Regions from separate parts of the Homo sapiens genome. Here all the other regions are linked to region 3. Evidence: promoter capture Hi-C in 16 types of primary human blood cells and fetal thymus (Javierre and others, 2016). All regions are on one chromosome and are shown on one strand. The core of a region is centred on a gene start or on the middle of the fragment in contact, and the rest is flanking DNA. Distances in the headings are between cores, read along the strand shown. Region 1 holds the start of RBM33 (RNA binding motif protein 33). Region 2 holds the start of HTR5A (5-hydroxytryptamine receptor 5A). Region 3 holds the start of BLACE (B cell acute lymphoblastic leukemia expressed).

Evidence for each region. Contacts are between HindIII fragments. The CHiCAGO score rates a contact against its expected background, and 5 or more counts as called.
Region 1: a contact is called between the fragment with the promoter of RBM33 here and the fragment with the promoter of BLACE in region 3, in 7 of 17 cell types (monocytes, total B cells, neutrophils and 4 more). The highest score is 8.5, in monocytes.
Region 2: a contact is called between the fragment with the promoter of HTR5A here and the fragment with the promoter of BLACE in region 3, in 2 of 17 cell types (fetal thymus and megakaryocytes). The highest score is 7.6, in fetal thymus.

Annotation. Positions count from the first base shown.
Region 1 is chr7:155,643,300-155,646,565 of GRCh38, forward strand. RBM33 (RNA binding motif protein 33) reads left to right here and starts at 1,362. Exons shown (of 18, transcript NM_053043.3): 1 at 1,362-1,620. The coding sequence starts at 1,578. RBM33-DT (RBM33 divergent transcript) reads right to left here and starts at 1,107. Exons shown (of 3, transcript NR_126344.1): 1 at 915-1,107; 2 at 169-305. RefSeq lists an enhancer at 301-1,255 and a silencer at 1,180-1,689. The HindIII fragment of the contact is 4,649 bases long and covers 1,110-3,266 here.
Region 2 is chr7:155,068,544-155,071,930 of GRCh38, forward strand. HTR5A (5-hydroxytryptamine receptor 5A) reads left to right here and starts at 1,781. Exons shown (of 2, transcript NM_024012.4): 1 at 1,781-3,097. The coding sequence starts at 2,357. It overlaps HTR5A-AS1 (HTR5A antisense RNA 1), which reads right to left and starts at 3,014. Exons shown (of 2, transcript NR_038945.1): 1 at 2,491-3,014; 2 at 1-702. RefSeq lists enhancers at 1,473-1,542, 2,330-3,156 and a silencer at 1,653-1,742. The HindIII fragment of the contact is 4,035 bases long and covers 952-3,387 here.
Region 3 is chr7:155,366,677-155,370,089 of GRCh38, forward strand. It overlaps BLACE (B cell acute lymphoblastic leukemia expressed), which reads right to left and starts at 1,257. Exons shown (of 6, transcript NR_103545.1): 1 at 1,133-1,257. It overlaps LOC105375593 (a long non-coding RNA gene), which reads left to right. Exons shown (of 3, transcript XR_928236.4): 3 at 3,126-3,413. The HindIII fragment of the contact is 7,901 bases long and covers 1-3,413 here.

The sequences.
Region 1 (3,266 bases), core at 112-2,611, 280 kb after region 3:
GCCACCACGCCCAACTAATTTTTGTATTTTTAGTAGAGACGGGGTTTCACCATGTTGGTCAGGCTGGTCTCAAACTCCTGACCTCGTGATCCACCCACCTCAGCCTCCCAAAGTGGTGGGATTACAGGCGTGAGCCACCGCGCCCGGCCAGCATTTTATTATACGTACCGTTTTATCATCTCTTCACCCATCCACCAATGCATCTCCTGTATGGACGTCTTGATTGTTAACTCACGGCACTGGACCTCCAGTTTCATGCCTCTCCACATTGCAGGGTCCTCTACGTTGTTGTATCAGTCACCTTTCTAAAATACAAATCTTACCATGTAAATTGTTTCTAAAATCTTTCAATAGACCCCATAGACTCAGAAAAACGTCCCAAAGTCCGGAATCCTGGCCCCTGCCTACCTTTCCAGTTTCATTGCTGGGTCAGAACGCCTCACCTAAGCCCCACATTGACCGATATGGAATCAATGTTTACAGCCGGTGTGTACTTAATCAACCCCCTTCCCCGACTGCGACCACTCAGATGCGCCTTCCCGGGCCCCACACCCCAAAACCCCTGAGCCCTTTCGTCCACAGCTGTCTGACCACCCAGCACCCTTTCCTTTATGTCAAGTATGAGGATTTCGTTTCTTAACCTTTCTCACTGCTCAAAATGCAAACTCAGACATGAGTGCCGGGCGCTATCCGTCCTGCTCACGTCTTGTTCTCAGGGCCGCAAGGCGCAGGGGCAGTAAGGGCCGAGAGCCCATCAGGGTCCGGCGCTGCCCGCTGCCCAGCCGGGCGCGGAGAAGGGGACGGGGGTCCGGGGTCGCGGGTCCGGAGGGTCTCGGGTTGTAGGAAGTGAGGGCTCGCGGGCGCCGCACGAGTGCGCGTGCACGTTAGCCCGGCGCGCGCGGCACTCATCTCACCTCGCGGAAGCACCTGCCGGAGCTGTGTGCACCCTTTCCTGCCCTCAACACAAGCCGTCGGCGTTCACTACTGTAGCTCATTCAGACCCCACTCTCCAACCTACTGTCCAGGCACAGAAACGACAGTTAAGGTTCCCCCGGACCGTACGCTGGACCTTGCCTCCCCGGCTCCTAACGGGAGACGGGCTGCCGTAAAGCTTCGCTTTGCCGACTGCTGCAAAGCGCCTTACGACTGAACCCGGAATCGACCTATGGCCAGCAGTCGTCCCCGCCCTGCTTCAAACATTTGGGTTTCAGGAGCCGGGCGGAGGTGACTGCCGCGTGTTTGCGTTGCACGCCCACCGCCCGAAACACGGCGGCGGCCTCAGGGCTGCTGCGGCCTCGGCGGGGGCAGGCCCCGGCGCCCGCCCGCCTCCCGGCCTCCATCATCCCAGGGTGCACCGCGGCGGGCGCGGGCGCGCGGCCATGTTGCGGTAGTTTGTTGTTTTCTTCCTGCGGAGGCGAAGGGCCAGCTGTGGACCGCGAAGCGCCCGGCTTCGCCTCTGCCTCCTGCAGCCCCCTCCCTTCTCTGTCCTCCGTCACCCGTACCCGGGCCCGGACCAGGCACGTCGGCCCACCAGCTGGCTTGGTGGGGGAGGCTGAAGGCCGGGCCCCGCGAGTGCCATGGCGGCCGCCCTGGGAGCGAGCGGAGGAGCAGGCGCCGGAGGTACGTGAGGCAGCCGGACTCTGGGGGCCAGGACCGCGCCGCGGTGGGCGGGGGTGTAGGCCGGGGGGCCTCCCCGCTTAGGAGAGGACGAGGCTCTCCCCGGCTCCGACTCTCTTTGTGTTCGGCCTATTCCGTTTTCTCCCTCGCCTTCCCTCGCTATTGTCATTCTCCCTTTCTCGCTCCTCCTCTCCGCTGTGCAGATCGTACTTACCTGTGAACTTCTGTGTGTCCTCTACTTTGCAAGGCTGCCTAAGTGTCAGGCCCATCTCTGGCGTTGGCGGGCATTAAGTGCCGAAGCCGGCCTGGTGTCCTATGGGTAGGAGAGCGCCCCCCCCACCCCCCGAGACAGTGTCACTTAGGGAGAGCGGGGCAGGTCGCTGTAGGGTGGGTGTTTAAGATTGTGGGGCCATCCTGACAGATTTAGATTGATTTGAAGCCCATTACAAAAACATAACGAAAAGATTCACCTGTGTGAAGGAATGTGCGACAGTAGGCCAGTTTGGAAAGTGAGATTTCTTGAGAAAGTCTCAATAAATCCCTGTTTTAAATTAACTTATTTGTTGTCTAATAACCTGTTAGTGTTTTATGTGCGTCTTCCAAAAGTGAAAACGTGACACAAAAGGTTTAGATACTGAGTCAGTTCCTTTGGATAGTTTTTCTTGTTTGCAAGCATAAACAGTATTGATGAAACACCTATCTCTAAAAAATTGTAGGTAAATTACTTTCAGGTAAAATTACATATCACTGGGGGTTTTAAAAACGTGGAGAGATACTTGAAAGTGACTTTTTAAGTGATTATTTTGAAAACTTTGAAAAGATGGTAAAATATGGATAACAAAAGCATTTGGGATTAGTTCTTACCATTGAAACGTTGAAAAGCCAGTCTAGTGTATACTCGAGAAGTATTTTTTAGTAAATGCTAGCAGATGGTTACGTTGTTATCATCCTGTTTAGGAATTTTGGCCCAACTGTCAAAACGTTTGCCTGACAAAATGGAAAAACAAAAAAGACTAAGTGTAGGAATGTCGCTTCTGGCAATTTGGTTTGCTATATGCCACTTTTCTTTCAGTTTAAATACATGATGTTTGCGTGTTACATCTGAGACTAATTAAAATTTTAAAATGTATAGTTCACCTATCTTTCTGGGGGTCAGAATTACTTGTTTTATAGCATTCCCAGTGTAACCTGGGAACTCTTGGGTGAACACTCTTTTCATTAGAAAGACTAAGGTGTTATTTGTATTTTTTCTCTTTTCTTTCAGTAGTGTACAGTGGAGTTTTCTAGAGGCTGAATAACATGTGAAGACGTTATGCTGATGGCTAATGGAATATATGCTTGTGTATTCTTTTACGTTTCTCATTTTAAATTTCTAAAATAGTAATATCACTGAATGTAATCCAGATAAACAGGCATTTTTGGGTCTTCAATAATTTTGAGGTCAGAAGTTTTGAGAATTGCTATTTTAGAAGAATAAGTAGGCTTTATTCATGATGCTTTGGAGTTTTTCCTTCCATTTTGTCACAAGTGCCAAAGTTTCCTTTGCTCTTCATACCAAACTCCTTGCCAAGATTTGTGAGTTCTGTATGACTTGGTCCCTGCCTACCCCACCAGCATGTTGTGTGATTGCTTCCTTTATCCTGGAAGTT
Region 2 (3,387 bases), core at 531-3,030, 300 kb before region 3:
CAGATTCTTTTCCTTTTCAGTGTTTTTCAAGATAAAATTGGGGCTATGCTTTAAGATGAAGCTGAAATATTATGATTTTTTATTTGTGTATTTTTAAGAGATAAGCCAGACTTTCTGAACAGGGTTTGTCCCTTCTGGAAATGCTCCATTGGATCTCTCCTTTGTGGGAATATTCTATTCAGTCCCTAAATTTATGACACTCTATTTTTCACAAATTATCCTCAGTCATCCTTGGCTTTGTCCTTATTAACTATTCTGCTGCTCACTTAGCTATCAATACAGACAGCTGTGGCCTGGGGAATCAGTAGGGAATATAATCACAAGCCCATAATGCCTTTCAAGATTCATAGAGATCCATTGAGGCCCGCCTGTGGGCAACACAGTTCATCCATTCCTCCAGATAACAGGCCCTGAGACTAGATGCAGAACTTTTTCCAAAGAAGAGGATTCATAGTTTACATCTCATTCCCATTAGTTCCATGACCTCAAGAAGGTGATTTGCCTTAAAGAAGCACAAGCTTGCTTCCAGATTGGGGCCATGCACAGTTGCTCTGCATGCAGGCAGTCACCATCAGCTGTTTTTAAGTGGTGTTTGAAACAGCCCTGTGAATAATCCGGTATTTAATGATGTTGTCCCGTCCTCTAGGTTCCAGTGGAGGACTTTCTCTTTTCTCAGTGCATTCTCCTGATACTTGTTTTACTCTGCAAGAAACAAAATCTTATATGAAAACATGTTGCTAATCTTTAAATAGTTAAAACTTTCTGACTAAATTTACTTGTAAATGCACAGGATTTCACGACACTCATTTTATATACTTAAAAACAAAGCTTATTAACACCTTACTTTTTTCCTGCCATTTCTGTCCATCATTTTTAAAATTTCAACTTCTTTTATATTGCTATATCATGTGCCTCTTTATGAGGTGCTTTCAATCATAATTTCTGGTTAGAAGCTTCTGATATTTTCTCAGTTTCTGTGGATGTGTTTGTGGTTGTTTTGTGTGCATGTGTGAGGGGAGAGTTAAATTACCTCTTTCTTTTGAGTGAGATGGAGCTCTTATAATAACTTGTATCCCAATTTTTCCTTCTCAGGAAGCAAATTTAGTAGGGACCACTGGAGACTACCCATCTGCCTTATGACTCTGAGGAGATAAAGCATTCTTCAGCCATTCCTGTTGGAGCCAGGTGAAGCATTCTAGCTCCAACACCTCAACCATCTCTAGGAACAGCAGCAACTGCTATCTCGCCTCTCCTCCTTTAAGGAAAACAACCCTTAAGGGAAGCAACTGAGAGCTGGGTAAGAAGAAAGCAATCACGTGCTAAAATCTTCCGGAGAACAAAAGTTAGTGAAACTATCTTAGACCCCTAATTCAGAACTCTTGCAGGAAGAGTAAATACTTATGGAAAGCTGAGAAAGCAGTGTCTAGGGCCTCCAGTCCACCCCTAGAGGGACGTGTGGGGGTGGCTAGGGGAACGTTTTGAGGAAAGTTCATTGGTCAACTTGTTCAACGTGGCAAACTCATTTCAGGCAAGAGAGGCAGCACCGTGGACAGCGCCAACCCTCCTGCTCCCGGGCGGGGCGAGGTGGCAGCACCGCGGACAGCACCACATGTGGTGGCGCACACTGGGAGCCGCCAGGCGCGGGGAGCGCAGCAGCACCGCGGACAGCCCCAAAGCCGCGCGCTCTGAGCCAGGAGGCGGGGAGAGATGGCCTTATCAGCTGATGGCTTACGTAGGGCTAGATCTCCACTTGGATAAGGCAGGTCTCGGTGGGCGCGCCAGCATTCGCTCTCCGGAGCTGCAGCCTCCGAAGGGGTGGCGGGGGCAACAGGGACAGAAGGCAGGTCCCAGAAAGCAGGTTCCCCCAAAACTGGCTTCCCTAGCACGGAGTTAAGGCTGCAGCCGGCTGCCTAGAGAGAAGGGTGGGCAGGGAGACAACGCGGTGAGAGCGACTGCTCTGACGCACCAGCCCCTCTCCTGCACCCACACGCTGCTGGCCGCCCAGCTTCTCCCCGATCTGGGAGATGCTCGGCTCTGGGCGGCCAAACAGCCTTTCCACCAAGGCGAGGAGCCCTGGGCTCCTGACAGCTTAGGCGGGCCCTGGCTGCGACACGCAGCCCCTCGCCTCTGCTTCCTTAGCCTCTGAGGGCTTCAGACCTGCCGCGCTTGCAGCCACACCATCTCCAACGGATGCTCACTAGCAGGAAATTGGGGCCAAATTCACAGGCACTTTCCAGAAACTCCCCCACTGGCCAGAGGTTGCAAACATCCGGATTGGCTCTGGGCACAGTGGCCGCCTTAAGTCCTCCTGAACACCCCTTCTGCAAGTACCCCAGGGCGGTCTCCTGACCCAGAGATGGATTTACCTGTGAACCTAACCTCCTTTTCCCTCTCCACCCCCTCCCCTTTGGAGACCAACCACAGCCTCGGCAAAGACGACCTGCGCCCCAGCTCGCCCCTGCTCTCGGTCTTCGGAGTGCTTATTCTCACCTTGCTGGGCTTTCTGGTGGCGGCGACGTTCGCCTGGAACCTGCTGGTGCTGGCGACCATCCTCCGTGTACGCACCTTCCACCGCGTGCCCCACAACCTGGTGGCATCCATGGCCGTCTCGGATGTCCTGGTGGCCGCGCTGGTCATGCCGCTGAGCCTGGTGCACGAGCTGTCCGGGCGCCGCTGGCAGCTAGGTCGGAGGCTGTGCCAGCTTTGGATCGCGTGCGACGTGCTTTGCTGCACGGCCAGCATCTGGAACGTGACGGCCATAGCCCTGGACCGCTACTGGTCCATCACGCGCCACATGGAATACACGCTCCGCACCCGCAAGTGCGTCTCCAACGTCATGATCGCGCTCACCTGGGCACTCTCCGCTGTCATCTCTCTGGCCCCGCTGCTTTTTGGCTGGGGAGAGACGTACTCTGAGGGCAGCGAGGAGTGCCAGGTAAGCCGCGAGCCTTCCTACGCCGTGTTCTCCACCGTAGGCGCCTTCTACCTGCCGCTCTGTGTGGTGCTCTTCGTGTACTGGAAGATCTACAAGGCTGCCAAGTTCCGCGTGGGCTCCAGGAAGACCAATAGCGTCTCACCCATATCCGAAGCTGTGGAGGTGGGTATCTCAGCAATCCTTAAAAATACTCGACTTGCATCTGTACAGGCTATATCCCCAGGCCACCTGCCCCACCCCCACACTTGTAGAAAATGGAACTTTTTGTGTTTGGGAGTGGGGGGAGTAAACTGGGAGAGTGGAAGAAAGCATCAGAGATGTACTTTGCTCTGACATGTTCCCTCTCACAGGGCTAATCATATCATGTTCCTTCTCTAATGGGTTGTTTGTTAAATATACAGAACACGAGGAGTTCAGACTGCGTCATTCTGCAGGGTCCCCTTTGGCCCCCA
Region 3 (3,413 bases), core at 7-2,506:
ACCTCCCGGACGGGGCGGCTGGCCGGGCGGGGGGCTGACCCCCGCCACCTCCCTCCCGGACGGGGCGGCTGGCCGGGCAGAGGGGCTCCTCACTTCCCAGTAGGGGCGGCCGGGCAGAGGCGCCCCTCACCTCCCGGACGGGGCGGCTGGCCGGGCGGGGGGCTGACCCCCCCACCTCCCTCCCGGACGGGGCGGCTGGCCGGGCAGAGGGGCTCCTCACTTCCCAGTAGGGGCGGCCGGGCAGAGGCGCCCCTCACCTCCCGGACGGGGCGGCTGGCCGGGCGGGGGGCTGACCCCCCCACCTCCCTCCCGGACGGGGCGGCTGGCCGGGCAGAGGGGCTCCTCACTTCCCAGTAGGGGCGGCCGGGCAGAGGCGCCCCTCACCTCCCGGACGGGGCGGCTGGCCGGGCGGGGGGCTGATCCCCCCACCTCCCTCCCGGACGGGGCGGCTGGCCGGGCGGGGGGCTGACCCCCCACCTCCCTCCCGGACGGGGCGGCTGGCCGGGCAGAGGGGCTCCTCACTTCCCAGTAGGGGCGGCCGGGCAGAGGCGCCCCTCACCTCCCGGACGGGGTGGCTGGCCGGGCGGGGGGCTGATCCCCCCACCTCCCTCCCGGACGGGGCGGCTGGCCGGGCGGGGGGCTGACCCCCCACCTCCCTCCCGGACGAGGCGGCTGGCCGGGCAGAGGGGCTCCTCACTTCCCAGTAGGGGCAGCCGGGCAGAGGCGCCCCTCACCTCCCGGACGGGGCGGCTGGCCAGGCGGGGGGCTGATCCCCCCACCTCCCTCCCGGACGGGGCGGCTGGCCGGGCGGGGGGCTGACCCCCCACCTCCCTCCCGGACGGGGCGGCTGGCCGGGCAGAGGAGTCCTCACTTCCCAGTAGGGGCGGCCGGGTAGAGGCGCCCCTCACCTCCCGGACGGGGCGGCTGGCCAGGCGGGGGGCTGATCCCCCCACCTCCCTCCCGGACGGGGCGGCTGGCCGGGCAGGGGGCTGACCCCCCTCCCCCCTCCCGGACTGGGTGGCTGGCCGGGCGGGGGGCTGACCCCCCCACCTCCCTCCTGGACGGGGCGACTGGCCGGGCAGAGGGGCTCCTCACTTCCCAGTAGGGGCGGCCGGGCAGAGGAGCCCCTCACCTCCCGGACGGGGCGGCTGGCCGGGCGGGGGGCTGACCCCCCCCACCTCCCCCCCGGACGGGGTGGCTGCCGGGCGGAGACGCTCCTCACTTCCCAGACGGGGTGGCTGCTGGACGGAGGGGCTCCTCACTTCTCAGACGGGGTGGTTGCCAGGCAGAGGTGCTCCCCACCTCTCAGACGATGGGCGGCCAGGCAGAGACGCTCCTCACTTTCCAGACGGGGTGGCGGCCGGGCAGAGGCTGCAATCTCGGCTCTTTGGGAGGCCAAGGCAGGCGGCTGGGAGGTGTAGGTTGTAGTGAGCCGAGATCACGCCGCTGCACTCCAGCCTGGGCACCATTGAGCACTGAGTGAACGAGACTCCGTCTGCAATCCCAGCACCTCGGAAGGCCGAGGCTGGCGGATCACTCGCGGTTAGGAGCTGGAGACCAGCCCGGCCAACACAGCGAAACCCCGTCTCCACCAAAAAAAAACGAAAACCAGTCAGGCGTGGCGGCGCGTGCCTGCAATCACAGGCACTCGGCAGGCTGAGGCAGGAGAATCAGGCAGGGAGGTTGCAGTGAGCCGAGATCGCAGCAGTACAGTCCAGCTTCGGCTCGGCATCAGAGGGAGACCGTGGAAGGAGACCGTGGGGAGAGGTAGAGGTAGAGGTAGAGGTAGAGGTTAGAGGTTAGAGGTTAGAGGTTAGAGGTAGAGGTAGAGGTAGAGGTAGAGGTAGAGGTAGAGGTAGAGGTAGACGTAGAGGTATCCTTTAATCTTTCTAGGACAGGTACAGTGGCTCATGCCTGTAATCCCAGCACTTTGGGAGGCCGAGGTGGGAGGATCACTGGAGGCAGGCGGATCACTGGAGCCAAGGAGTTCAAGACCAACCAGGGCAACATAGTGAGACCTTGTCTCTACAAGAAGTTTAAAAAATTAGCCAAGCATGGCGGCGCATGCCTGTAGTCCCAGCTACTTGGGAGGATGAAGCTAGAGGATTGCTTGAGCCCAGAAGGCAGAGGCTGCAGTGAGCAGTGATCACACCACTGCACTCCAGCCTGGGCGACAGAGCAAGCTCCTATCTCAAAAAAAAAAAAAAAAACAGATAATCTTTCTAGGACTTGATTTCCCAGGCTCCATAATGGCAATCTGCGCAGGCAGCTTCTGGCTCTGAGTCTTCCTGTTTCTGTGGTGCCACTGCCAGCACAGGGAGGTCATTCTGTATCATGTCACTTGCTTGGTGTTTTACACCCATGGATGATGAAACAGCAACTGCAGCCTGGAGTGCTGGGAGGCAGAGAGAGTCTCGCTTCCCAGGCCATCTGGCTTACTGTGAAGGCCAGAAGCAGCACAGCCTCTCTTGGTCACCAGGGATCAGGACTCAGGTGGAGAGGGTGGGGCAGGGGCTGGCAGTGGAGACAGGTCCACACTGGGAACCAGCTGTGCCAGGCAGTGTGGCCCTGAAGCCCCTAAGGTGTGTCAAGAGGGGTCTTTCAGGAAATGGTTAGAGAGTGCAGGTGTTGTGTTTCTCTCTGACATGTAAACATATGTCTTTCTAGACAGGCAGGTCTCCCTATACCTGCCTTACGTGGGAAGCACGTCCGCAGGAGAGGTGCCACCCAGTGCCTCCAGCACTGATCAGGCCTTTCTCAGGTGTTGGGCAGGGAGAGGCAGAGCCCAAGAGAAGCCTCAGCAGAACACTAACAGTGGAAAGGAGGCAGTGAGGTGGAAGCAGCTTCTTTGGTACATGCAGAAAGTTCTAGAAAGGCCTTTTGGCTTAGAATCCTAGCTCTATTCACGTGAAGCAGCACTTCGGCATGAGGTGGTGCTTGAGGGCCCCTTGTCTGAGTAAAACGTGGATGTTGTAGCTGGTTTTGGGGGCTGTGGGACTCCCCCATCTGCACACCCCCTACTCAGCCGATGTGGTAAGCATTTAGCCACAGCAAGTGCTTACTTAGTATTTGTTGGTTCCTGATACACAGAAATCTCTGTGATCCAAGCAGTGTTTCTCCCATAGGACTCTACCCTGCCAACCCTCAGCTCGGCTCAGCTCAGCAGCTCGCTAACTGTGAAACTCGGACGGACATCCTGTGATCACTCCAACGCTTTAAAATTCATCAAAGCGCAGAGCGCTGCCTGGCCGCAGCCCATTGCTCTGTTGTTCTGAGGGGCAAGGCCACAGCGACCTACAGCAGGGAAGAGACAAACACAGATCTGGTGCAGAGATTATTCGGGTCATCGATGACAGGCAGGCAAGAAAGCAGGAGCGTTTCCTGCACGGCCACACCCAAGCAGAACCTTTTCA